Linked DNA regions of Homo sapiens: all the other regions are linked to region 1. Evidence: promoter capture Hi-C in 16 types of primary human blood cells and fetal thymus (Javierre and others, 2016). All regions are on one chromosome and are shown on one strand. The core of a region is centred on a gene start or on the middle of the fragment in contact, and the rest is flanking DNA. Distances in the headings are between cores, read along the strand shown. Region 1 holds the start of MIR4757 (microRNA 4757). Region 2 holds the start of RHOB (ras homolog family member B). Region 3 holds the start of LDAH (lipid droplet associated hydrolase).

Region 1 (3,986 bases), core at 522-3,021:
CAGCACTGGCCTGCGAGTTCCTTTTGCGCCTGCGCGTGGCGCTTGCGCAGTGGGAGAGGAGGGCGGGGCCGCAGTGGGCGCGGCCATAGTGGGCGCAGAAGTGGGTGGGATGAGTACGCCGCGGCAACTGCTGCCCTGAAACCCCGCGGGCAGGGAGACCACTCTAAACCACTGATTCAAGAAGAGGACGCTGCAGGGCACCGCCCTTCACTCAGGACAGCTGCCAACGCTTCGGGTCTGCGGATCGTGTTAGTGGAGACGAACCGATTCGTGGCGCCTGCCTGGGCCGATTCGCGGGGCGGGGCGGGGCGGGGCTGAGAGGTGTGGATATGTTAGCCCGAGGCGGGGCCCATCTGTGACGTCACGAAGTTACGTAATGGAATGCCTCTGTGGACCTCATTCAAGCCTTGTGTTCCAGCCCGAGGCCTCTGTGACGTCACGGTGTCTGCGGGAGGAGACCATGACGTCACAGAGGCTTCGCGCTCTGAGAGGTGGGACGGGACTCTTTTGAGCCGGCTATGGGGACACCAAGATTCTAGGGGATTTAGGATATCAGGTCCTCAGGTTCTGGGAGCTGAGGTCACGTCAGGGAGTCCCAGAGCATCACATTGCGTCCCTCCCCACAATGTGAGCAGTGAATTCCGCGGCAAGGAAGTACGCGGGAAAACATTTTTTAGTGGGTCCCTAACCCCTAACTACACTCTGGAAATAGGGGGTAGAACCTGAAACACTCTCTCCCAGGAAGAAGCTCCTGCAAGCTGTTCTTTTCCCTGGAAGCACCTGATATCTTACCGGAGACAGCATCTGGCAGTTCCGGGCTGTGCCCAGGGTCTCTGGCACCTTCCGCCCTCCCTGCCCAAGAGGCTGTCCTAGGCCAGATAGCTTCCCCAGCCGTACACAAAAACTTCAGGCCTAGCAGCTTTGAGAAGGGCCCCAGCTGAACTCCACCTGGCCAGCACCATCGGCCTCTTTTTCTCCTGAAAAATAGCCCCAGCAACGCTGAGCGCCACACAGTCACTGGGACCAGCGAAGCTTATTGTGATGGGGGTCTGGAGAGGAGACAAGAGCTGGGACTTTCTAGAGATGCATTGGGGGAAAAATTGGGGCAGGCAAGGAAACCCACCCAACATTTCTGACCCTCTCAATTGCACTTTTTGTGCAACCCACACTGAGTATGAGCAGGAAACTGGGGCACTAGTTTCCAACCACATCAACCAACCACATCACCTGGGAATTGTAGCCTGGATAGGGTCGGATGGCCCACAGGCCCAGCCGGCCTTTCCACCTGTAGTTACTGTTTCTGCACAGTCTATGAATCACTAGAACAAGCTGCAGGGAGACGTGATCTCTGAGTCCACCGGGATAACAGCAAACATCAGTAGAGCAAATAGGGGCATTCTGAGAGGGCCAGGGAGTTGCTGCGCATCATCCTGTCCCACCCTCCATTCCCCATCCCCAATTTAAAATTCTGCACTGGAAATCTGTTATTTTGAGGATGCACACTTGATACTGACATTCAGTTGCAGACCTTGGACTGGGTGGGTTTTCACAGTGCTGGAGGTGGGGTGACCCAAAAAGGATTAACGTGGCTGGCAAACCTCCCCATTTCACCGCATTTGTAGCTTCCTGAGGCCCCGGGAACTGCAGAGGCTCGATCTTCAGGGAGGTGGAATGATGTGTTCTGGGAGGTGGAGGGATGTCAGGGGCTAGGGAAGAGCAGCCATAGACAACCCCAAGGATAGCATCCCAGAAAGAGCCAAGGGACTAGGAAGGGCACCCTGTGTGTGTGTGTGTTCACCCATGCACTCTGGTTGTTTTGGAGCAACCATGGCCCGCAGCCTCCTGGGGCTTCATAAAGAAACCAAGGAAGATTCTGCAGTTGACCCTAGTACAAGCTATGGTCAGGCACAAACCACACCACAACCTGCGTGCGCCGCTTGGGCGCAGACCGTCTACACCACCCGCAAACCTACTGGCTAGCCCCACTTCCACGCACTCAGAGGCCCCAGTTCTCAGGAATGGGGGCATAATCCTGGGCCGCGCGCGACCTTGTGAACTGCTTGGAAGAAGGATTGGGATAGTGCCCAACTAATGAAGATCCCTCAGACCAGACCAGACTCAGCAGCGCCCTGCCCCTCATCCACAGTGGGTCCTGGGGCCAGTCAAGATTTTGGGACCAAACACATAGATGCTTGGTGGTTTCGCGAGGTTGCGGGCAAGACCCCTTGAGGTGCCAAGTCCTGGGCCGCCCCTCCAGGGCTGGCCAGCAGGGGGCAGCGTGGCTCTGAGCGTGGAGGCCAGGGCTGGTCCGCGCCGGCAGGGCCAGCCTCCAGTGCCCAGTTGGGTTCCCGGGCCTCGAAGTTCTAGCCCGCACAGGACTCAGGAGCGTTCCCGGAGGAGGTGGGGATGGGGTGGTGAAAGCCCAGAGCGTTTTAACTTCTGCATCCCCTGCCGCTTTCTCAGCCAGCAGGGCCCGGCTTGAGGCTGGGATTTTTGGTGCCTGCAGCAGGGAAGCTTATAGTCCAGTTGTCATCCGCGGCCGCCGCGCTCCGGGCGCTGAAGCTGGAGAGGCCATCCTGCGCTTGGGAAAGGCCGCGGGCGCCACCGCCTGCGCGGTCCCGCGGTCAGGGCGCTGGAGCTGGGGGGAGCCCCGCCTTGCCCCAAGGAGAAGAGCCCCGGCGGCCTGGCTTCTAACTGTGGGAAAACTAGACACCCCAGGGAAGGTTCAGCTTATGGAAGGCGGACTCGAATTTTTCCTCCTAAGCGTCCCGGGCCTCCCAGGGCGCCCGCCCCCACCATTCCTGACAAGGCTTTAAAATTGTAGGGAATCTTCGCGGGTGCAGAGCCTCGATCCTAGGAGGGGACAAGTCCCAAGCAGAGAATTGTGTCTGAGGGACCCTAAGGGAGGGAGTGATGTTGGTTTGGGGTTCCGGGGAGGCAGCGGTCATTGTGTATTTGCACCCGAGTGTTGAGACCCGGGGAACGGGAAATATTACAGCTCTGAGGCTCTGTGAGGGCGGGTCCTTCCCACCCCAAAGCCAGAGGCCAGGAGGGAGGCCTTCGGTTAGGGTGGGGAAAGACATTCTCTTCTCTTCTTGCACCCTAAGCGATCTCAGCACCCAGAGACGCTGTCTCAGCACCCAGAGACTCTGGGATTTCTCACGGGCGGTTTTCTGCCTTCAGGCTTAGGTTCTTCGTAAACTCACAGCACTTTAGCGGTGAGGAGTGGGAAGGCTGAGACCCTATCCCTGAGGCGGAGGAGAAAAGTAGGAAAATCAATACATGGTGGGGCGGAGGCAGACCTAACCGGGAGAGAGGACGTTGCTCCACACATCTCAGCCCTGTCATCCTAATAAGACGGGGTGGTAGGAGGGGGACACGCTGGCGTCCAGCAGAGAAACCTGGTCCTCTCAAAGAGAGGACCCAACCGGTTTCCTGCGTTTAGGAGGGAAATTACCCATCCTGCAATGCCTGTAAAATAACCGTTTATTTAATAGTTAAAAAAAAAAAAAACTCCAGTGATAAATGTCCGTTACCGATGGTCAGCATAAAGTGCCAATCGCAATATAACGCCCGGCTCTTGGCTGGCTGCTCCCTCGCAGTGTCGCGGCAGCGGAGGCCGGGCCCCCTGCAGACCCCAGGCCCGAGGTCCCCGTCCCGCTCTCCTAGTCCCGGAGCCCACGGCCGCCAGCTGAGCTGCAAGAGCTGGGAGGGGGCTGCCCCGCGGTCCCTAGGGCAGGAGGCTGAAGCAGATACAGGGATTACACTTTTGCAGGCTCCGGGGGTGGGGGCAGGGGCGGGAGGAGGAGGTGGGAGCTGCCAGTGCTAAGGACTTCGTTGCCTCTCCTCTCTCCACTCACTCTCCGCAGTCAGAGTTACAAGCTTATATGGTCAAAGACAAAAATAAAAAAGAAAACGTATAAAATAACAATAGAAAAAGTAATACTTCTGGGAGAGGCGCCGCTGCGGCTCCGCGGAGCTTTCGT
Region 2 (4,216 bases), core at 98-2,597, 1.1 Mb after region 1:
AAATGAGTTCAGTCCTGGCGTGCATCAGGAGGCTACGCCCCAATAGAGGGGACACCCCCTAACCCGCTGTGCCCCATTTGCTAGCCCCTTACTCCTCCCCTCTTCTCCAGCCTCAAGCCTTTTCGTCTGCTCAGGGGTCTTGGGGTGGTTGGATTCTATTGAACCCGGAATATTGTACGTTCTATTGTACAATAGTGTATATTCTATTGTACATTCTATTGTACAATAGTGTATATTCTATTGTACATTCTATTGTACAATAGTGTATATTCTATTGTACATTCTATTGTACAATAGTGTATATTCTATTGTACATTCTATTGTACAATAGTGTATATTCTATTGTACATTCTATTGTACAAGTGTATATTCTATTGTACATTCTATTGTACAATAGTGTATATTCTATTGTACATTCTATTGTACAATAGTGTATATTCTATTGTACATTCTATTGTACAATAGTGTATATTCTATTGTACAATTTATCTCAGACAGTTCTCTGTTTTAAGAACCGGGATCAGAGTTCATAGTGAAAAGAGGGGCCGAAGGGGCTTCTTCCTGTCCGGTAACTTCCTCCAAGTGTTCGAGCCTCGACCTTCCCTTTCCGTTGTCAAGCTTGGGCCACTCCGCACCTCTTCCCTTAATCTTCACCTAGAGACCTAAGCTGGGGGTTGGGAAGGGTAGGGGCGGCGGGACTTGGAAGAGCCAGTTTGCAGCCAGCCGGTCGCCTCTCGGGTCCAAACCCGAGGCTGGCCCACGGCGAGTACCCGGGTGGGGCCCTAAACCACAGGAGGGGCCACCTCCAAAAGAAAAGAGAAAACACTCTTGTTTGGGAACAAAAGTGTGTGTGTGGGGTGTGTGTGTGTGTGTGTGTGTGTGTGTGTCTGTTTATTTAAAAACAAAACCACGTTAAAAGAGCTGCCCCTCCCCCACAGGCCCGACCACCCGCCGGGAGTTTGCCAGGAAGAGGGGCAATTCTGAATGGGAGTCGCCAACGCCCCACTGAGTGAAGCCTGTCTCGGAACCGCTCGCCCAGACCCTGGAGGCTCCAGACAGCCAGCTCCCGGACCCCGCGCGCAAACGCTGCGGCGAAGGAGGGGACCCGGGTACCGCCAGAGCCCCGCAGCGGCAGCAGCAGCGCGGACTCCCCGGTCGCTGCCTCTCCCAGCCCGGCGGCCTGGGCCGTCAATCAAGCTGGCCCTGCCCCGCCCTCGGGCTGCAGGGGGCGGCCAATCAGAGCTAAGCTCCGCAGCGATGAGCTCAGCCGGCTGGTTTCCCATTGGACGGCTATATTAAGAAAGTGGCCGGACTCTTTAAATAGCGGGCGCTAGGGCCGCAGCCCTCATCTGCCACCGCAGTCTGGTTGGAGCTGTTGTCTTGTATGCTCAGCGAGGCCCGGAGAGACCCGGGAGAGAGCTAGGCCGAGTCCACCGCCCGAGTCTGCTGCCCGAGCCCGCGTTACGCACAAAGCCGCCGATCCCCGGCCTGGGGTGAGCAGAGCGACCACCGCCCGGGAGCAGCGCGGCGAGACGCACGGTGCGCCCTATGCCCCCGCGCCCCCACCGCCCCCGCCGCGGCAGCCGAAGCGCAGCGAGAGAACGCGCCACCGCGGGGCCCGGGTGCAGCTAGCGACCCTCTCGCCACCTGCGCGCAGCCCGAGGTGAGCAGTGAGCGGCGAGCGGGAGGGCAGCGAGGCGTTCGCGGGCCCCCTCCTGCTGCCCGGGCCCGGCCCGCTCATGGCGGCCATCCGCAAGAAGCTGGTGGTGGTGGGCGACGGCGCGTGTGGCAAGACGTGCCTGCTGATCGTGTTCAGTAAGGACGAGTTCCCCGAGGTGTACGTGCCCACCGTCTTCGAGAACTATGTGGCCGACATTGAGGTGGACGGCAAGCAGGTGGAGCTGGCGCTGTGGGACACGGCGGGCCAGGAGGACTACGACCGCCTGCGGCCGCTCTCCTACCCGGACACCGACGTCATTCTCATGTGCTTCTCGGTGGACAGCCCGGACTCGCTGGAGAACATCCCCGAGAAGTGGGTCCCCGAGGTGAAGCACTTCTGTCCCAATGTGCCCATCATCCTGGTGGCCAACAAAAAAGACCTGCGCAGCGACGAGCATGTCCGCACAGAGCTGGCCCGCATGAAGCAGGAACCCGTGCGCACGGATGACGGCCGCGCCATGGCCGTGCGCATCCAAGCCTACGACTACCTCGAGTGCTCTGCCAAGACCAAGGAAGGCGTGCGCGAGGTCTTCGAGACGGCCACGCGCGCCGCGCTGCAGAAGCGCTACGGCTCCCAGAACGGCTGCATCAACTGCTGCAAGGTGCTATGAGGGCCGCGCCCGTCGCGCCTGCCCCTGCCGGCACGGCTCCCCCTCCTGGACCAGTCCCCCGCGAGCCCGGAGAAGGGGAGACCCGTGTCCCACAAGGACCCCACCGGCCTGCCTGGCATCTGTCTGCTGACGCCTCTGGCTTGCGCCAGGACTTGGCGTGGGCACCGGGCGCCCCCATCCCAGTGTCTGTGTGCGTCCAGCTGTGTTGCACAGGCCTGGGCTCCCCACTGAGTGCCAAGGGTCCCCTGAGCATGCTTTTCTGAAGAGCCGGGCCTCAGAGTGTGTGGCTGTGTGTCTGTTCGACTCCCCTCGCCCCATTTTCACCCCACCCCCGCCTCTGATCCCCGGGGGCGAGATTGGCGCGGGAGTGTGGCCGCGCCCCATCAGATGTTCGCCCTTCACCAGCGGGAGCTTGATATCCCTTGTCTGTAACATAGACCCCGGGTACTGCGGGAGGGGAGGGCTGCTGGGGAGGATGGGGGGATGTTATATAAATATAGATATAATTTTATTTTCGGAGCTAAGATGGTGTTATTTAAGGGTGGTGATGGGTGAGCGCTCTGGCCCAGGCTGGGCCAGACTCCCGCCCAAGCATGAACAGGACTTGACCATCTTTCCAACCCCTGGGGAAGACATTTGCAACTGACTTGGGGAGGACACAGCTTCAGCACAGCCTCTCCTGCGGGCCAGCCCGCTGCGAACCCTCCACCAGCTACCGGAGGGAGGAGGGAGGATGCGCTGTGGGGTTGTTTTTGCCATAAGCGAACTTTGTGCCTGTCCTAGAAGTGAAAATTGTTCAGTCCAAGAAACTGATGTTATTTGATTTATTTAAAGGCTAAAATTTGTTTTTTTATTCTTTGCACAATTGTTTCATTGTTTGACACTTAATGCACTCGTCATTTGCATACGACAGTAGCATTCTGACCACACTTGTACGCTGTAACCTCATCTACTTCTGATGTTTTTAAAAAATGACTTTTAACAAGGAGAGGGAAAAGAAACCCACTAAATTTTGCTTTGTTTCCTTGAAGAATGTGGCAACACTGTTTTGTGATTTTATTTGTGCAGGTCATGCACACAGTTTTGATAAAGGGCAGTAACAAGTATTGGGGCCTATTTTTTTTTTTTCCACAAGGCATTCTCTAAAGCTATGTGAAATTTTCTCTGCACCTCTGTACAGAGAATACACCTGCCCCTGTATATCCTTTTTTCCCCTCCCCTCCCTCCCAGTGGTACTTCTACTAAATTGTTGTCTTGTTTTTTATTTTTTAAATAAACTGACAAATGACAAAATGGTGAGCTTATGATGTTTACATAAAAGTTCTATAAGCTGTGTATACAGTTTTTTATGTAAAATATTAAAAGACTATGATGATGACATTTATAAAATGGCTCTTGTGGTTTAATAGTGTGTAAAAATACCCTTGTGAATTTGGAACAAGGGAGATATTCTCCTAGGCGAGATCCTTTCTTGCCAACTCCGTTTCCCTTATAGCAAATGTAGTAAATGAGGATGAAGTCCCTTTGAGAGCATGTGGGGGTTGGGTGACCAAGGGAGACCAGGTTGTTCCTGTCACATTCCTAGAGGAAGATGAGTGGATACCCCGACACCCAGTGCAAAAACTTTTGACCTATTATGTACTCAGTTCAATTGGGTGAGACCGAAGATCTTGATTTCATTCATCTGTGTGTCTTAAAAACACTTGTGTCTTTAAGTCTATTATGGGGCTTTGCTTATTCTTTGAGTCTTGGAAAGTTATCATTTGTGCATTTTAAATTTAGAAAACCTTTATTAATCGTTGGTGTGGGGTCACGCTATCAGGAAGCCTGTTTACTGGGTTCCCTTCAGGCCATCAAGGGGTTTACACAATATCCCAGGAAGTTGT
Region 3 (3,868 bases), core at 1,233-3,732, 1.5 Mb after region 1:
ATGGATTAAAGACTTAAATGTTAGACCTAAAACCATAAAAACCCTAGAAGAAAACCTAGGCAATACCATTCAGGACATAGGCATGGGCAAGGACTTCATGTCTAAAACACCAAAAGCAATGGCAACAAAAGCCAAAATTGACAAATGGGATCTAATTTAACTAAAGAGCTTCTGCACAGCAAAAGAAACTACCATCAGAGTGAACAGGCAACCTACAGAATGGGAGAAAATTTTTGCAACCTACTCATCTGACAAAGGGCTAATATCCAGAATCTACAAAGAACTCAAACAAATTTACAAGAAAAAAACAAACAACCCCATCAAAAAGTGGGTGAAGGATATGAACAGACACTTCTCAAAAGAAGACATTTATGCAGACAAAAAACACATGAAAAAATGCTCATCATCACTGGCCATCAGAGAAATGCAAATCAAAACTACAATGAGACATCTTCTCACAGCAGTTAGAATGGTGATCATTAAAAAGTCAGGAAACAACAGGTGCTGGAGAAGATGTGGAGAAACAGGAACACTTTTACACTGTTGGTGGGACTGTAAACTAGCTCAACCATTGTGGAAGTCAGTGTGGCGATTCCTCAGGGATCTAGAACTAGAAATACCATTTGACCCAGCCATCCCATTACTGGGTATATACCCAAAGGAATATAAATCATGCTGCTATAAAGACACATGCACATGTATGTTTATTGCAGCACTACTTACAATAGCAAAGACTTGGAACCAACCCAAACGTCCAACAATGATAGACTGGATTAAGAAAATGTGGCACATATACACCATGGGATACTATGCAGCCATAAAAAAGAATGAGTTCATGTCCTTTGTAGGGACATGGATGAAGCTGGAAACCATCATTCTCAGCAAACTATCGCAAGGACAAAAAACCAAACACCACATGTTCTCACTCATAGGTGGGAATTGAACAATGAGAACACTTGGACACAGGAAGGGGGAGATCACACACCGGGGCCTGTTGTGGGGTGGGGTGAGTGGGGAGGGATAGCATTAGGAGATATACCTAATGTAAATGACAAGTTAATGGGTGCAGCACACCAACATGGCACATGTATACATATGTAACAAACCTGCACGTTGTGCATATGTACCCTAGAACTTAAAGTATAATTTTAAAAAAATTAAAAAAAAGAAAGAAAAAATCCTCCAGTCTGAAGGCATTAAGTTATCAAAAAGCAAAATATTAAAATATAAAATTTTAGATGGGCACCCACTGTGTTGCCCTGATTATCCCCCTAGAATGCTACATGCTGGAAAGAGGGGCCTTAGCAGGTTTCTAAGTCTTTAACCTTCAGGTGGAAAAATGGGGAAACACACAAGAGACACTCCTACGTATAGTTTCAGAAAGAAGTTTAATTAAAAAACAGCTTTTGAGAATAAACATTCTGGAGATGCTTCTAAATCTTCTGGGTTTCTTTTGGTTGTATCTCTTTCTCCATACAGATTTGTTCTTTCAACTCAAGGACTATCAACTCTTTTTTTTTTTTTGAGACTGAGTCTCACTTTGTCGCCCAGGCTAGAGTGCAGTGGCGCCATCTCGGCTCACTGCAAGCTCCACCTCCCGGGTTCACGCCATTCTCCTGCTTCAGTCTCCCGAGTAGCTGGGACTACAGGCGCCCGCCACCACGCCCGGCTAATTTATTTATTTATGTATTTATTTTTGTATTTTTAGTAAAGATGGGGTTTCACCGTGTTAGCCAGGATGGTCTCGATCTCCTGACCTCCTGATCCGCCCGCCTCGGGGTCCCAAAGTGCTGGGATTACAGGCGTGAGCCACGGCGCCCGGCCAGGACTATCAACTCTTGTGTTTGGTACACAGGACACAAAGCAGGTGTCCGGTAACTACTTGCGAGGGAAGATACGAATTAACCAAGGAATAAAGTGTTCCAATCTGCATTCTGTCTTGCGTGGGGAACAAAACCAAACTAAGACCCAAGGATGAGGGTTTACGGTTAAGGTCTTCAGCGTGAATAAAAGGCGGCGTGAGCACTAAACGCCGGGGGCAAAGAACACTCCCGGCCCAGAGTTTGACCCCTCCTAGCGAGTTCTTCCCGGCCAGCTGCCCAACTTTTTGGCCTCTACTCCTCCGCGGGGGCACCATAAGACTCCCTACAGGTGGGCTACACTTAGGGGTTCAAATGCTGCATTACCGCGCTCGGGTGAGCGACTGCCCGGCCTGCAACTCAAGGGACTCCCAGGCCAAGTGGCTCCGAACTCGCGAGCTGTCGGAACAGTATTATTTTTGCTGCTACGGGCCATCTGGCCCAGGGCAACAGGGGCTCTGCGAGGAACCATAGAGAAGAAGGGGCGCCAGATCCCGCGTGCCTGCCCACCCGTCCTTCCTTTGGGCAGTCACCCTGAGCTCGGCAAGCTGTACCTCACCTGTCCACCTGGAAGGCTGCCCGCTCTCCCTGAGGGTCCTGGGAAGGCGGCACGAGACCGGAAGTGCCCCCCTCAGGTGACGTCACAGTACCGCGCCGGAGCTGATCCGGGAAGCCGATGTCAGCCTGGCGCGCGGCGCACAGCTGGCTGGGAGATTTCTTACTGGCTTGGAGCCGGTGGTCCAGATCAGAGAGACCTCTTGGAGGGTGTCGGGGTTTTCCTTTCTTTTTCATTTGAATTTTATCCGCCTTTTATTTTCTGTCATCCTTGATGTGCTTCTGGCTTCTGGCTTCCCTTTCCTTCTCTCTCATTTGTTCCATGTCTGCCCCTCTTTTCTCCCTCTTCCCATTTCCCTCTTTCTGCGTTACTAGTTGCATATCTTCCCCACATACACAGGAAAGTTGATTCTCATTTGATCATGTTCATAAGCATGATCAATAAAGTATTTTTTTAATTAAGGTGTTGCCAACTTTAAGAAAATTCAGAGAATAATATTAAGTATAGAGTTTATTTGGGCTCAGTGCTTGAGAATGGCCACTCAGGAGCTTAGATTCAAGTTGCCTTGAATATACACTCCAATTAGCAGCAGTCGGAGTAGGTTTTTTTTTTTTTTTTTTTTTTTTTTTGAGACGGAGTCTTGCTCTGTCGCCCAGGCCGGACTGCGGACCGCAGTGGCGCAATCTCGGCTCACTGAAAGCTCCGCTTCCCGGGTTCACGCCATTCTCCTGCCTCAGCCTCCCGAGTAGCTGGGACTACAGGCGCCCGCCACCGCGCCCGGCTAATTTTTTGTATTTTTAGTAGAGACGGGGTTTCACCTTGTTAGCCAGGATGGTCTCGATCTCCTGACCTCATGATCCACCCGCCTCGGCCTCCCAAAGTGCTGGGATTACAGGCGTGAGCCGGTTTTTAAGGAAAGGAGAGGAGGCAGAGCTTAACTTGTTTACCAAGAATTTATATTTAAAAAACTTAAGCTATTGACTGGCTATGCTTTCTTCCTTGTATCACAAATTCCAGGAACATAAAGATAATGGGTGAGGCAGCTAATAAAGAACAAAATGCCTTTAACAATTGCCCTAAGGCATGGGAAGGCGTGGCGGAAGCCAGTATTCACTTCTGTCCGGGTCTAATAAATTTTGCATACCTCACATAGCTCAGACAGCTCTGGGCTATTTTTCTTTTCTTAGTATGTACTTTTTTTAGACATAATACTGTTGTACACAATAATCTACAGTACAGTGTAAATATAAATTTTATATGCACTGGGAAACCAAAAAAATTCTGTGAACTGCCTTATTGTGATGTTTGCTTTATTGTGGTAGTATGGAACTGAACCCCCAATATCTTCAAAGTATGCTTGGATTTAAAAAAGAGGTTTACTTAGCTCATGGTTCTGCACATTGGAAAGCTCAAGGGGCATAGTGTGAGCATCTGCTCAGTTCTGGTTAGAGTT

The links. The method cuts DNA at HindIII sites, captures the fragments that hold promoters and counts their contacts. A CHiCAGO score of 5 or more calls a contact.
Region 2: the fragment with the promoter of RHOB here is called in contact with a fragment that was not itself captured in region 1 in 1 of 17 cell types (total CD8 T cells); the score reaches 5.3 in total CD8 T cells.
Region 3: the fragment with the promoter of LDAH here is called in contact with a fragment that was not itself captured in region 1 in 3 of 17 cell types (total CD4 T cells, total B cells and M0 macrophages); the score reaches 7.2 in total CD4 T cells.

What each region holds. Positions count from the first base shown.
Region 1 is chr2:19,348,017-19,352,002 of GRCh38, forward strand. OSR1 (odd-skipped related transcription factor 1) reads right to left here. Exons shown (of 3, transcript NM_145260.3): 3 at 3,469-3,986. MIR4757 (microRNA 4757) reads left to right here and starts at 413; the gene lies at 413-489. RefSeq lists enhancers at 41-170, 2,494-2,563. The HindIII fragment of the contact is 1,482 bases long and covers 1,031-2,512 here.
Region 2 is chr2:20,445,727-20,449,942 of GRCh38, forward strand. It overlaps RHOB (ras homolog family member B), which reads left to right and starts at 1,348. Exons shown (of 1, transcript NM_004040.4): 1 at 1,348-3,714. The coding sequence starts at 1,740. The coding sequence ends at 2,330. RefSeq lists silencers at 1,057-1,306, 1,557-1,766. The HindIII fragment of the contact is 3,675 bases long and covers 617-4,216 here.
Region 3 is chr2:20,820,619-20,824,486 of GRCh38, forward strand. LDAH (lipid droplet associated hydrolase) reads right to left here and starts at 2,483. Exons shown (of 7, transcript NM_021925.4): 1 at 2,419-2,483. RefSeq lists enhancers at 1,359-2,184, 1,987-2,056, 2,277-2,666. The HindIII fragment of the contact is 14,255 bases long and covers 1-3,868 here.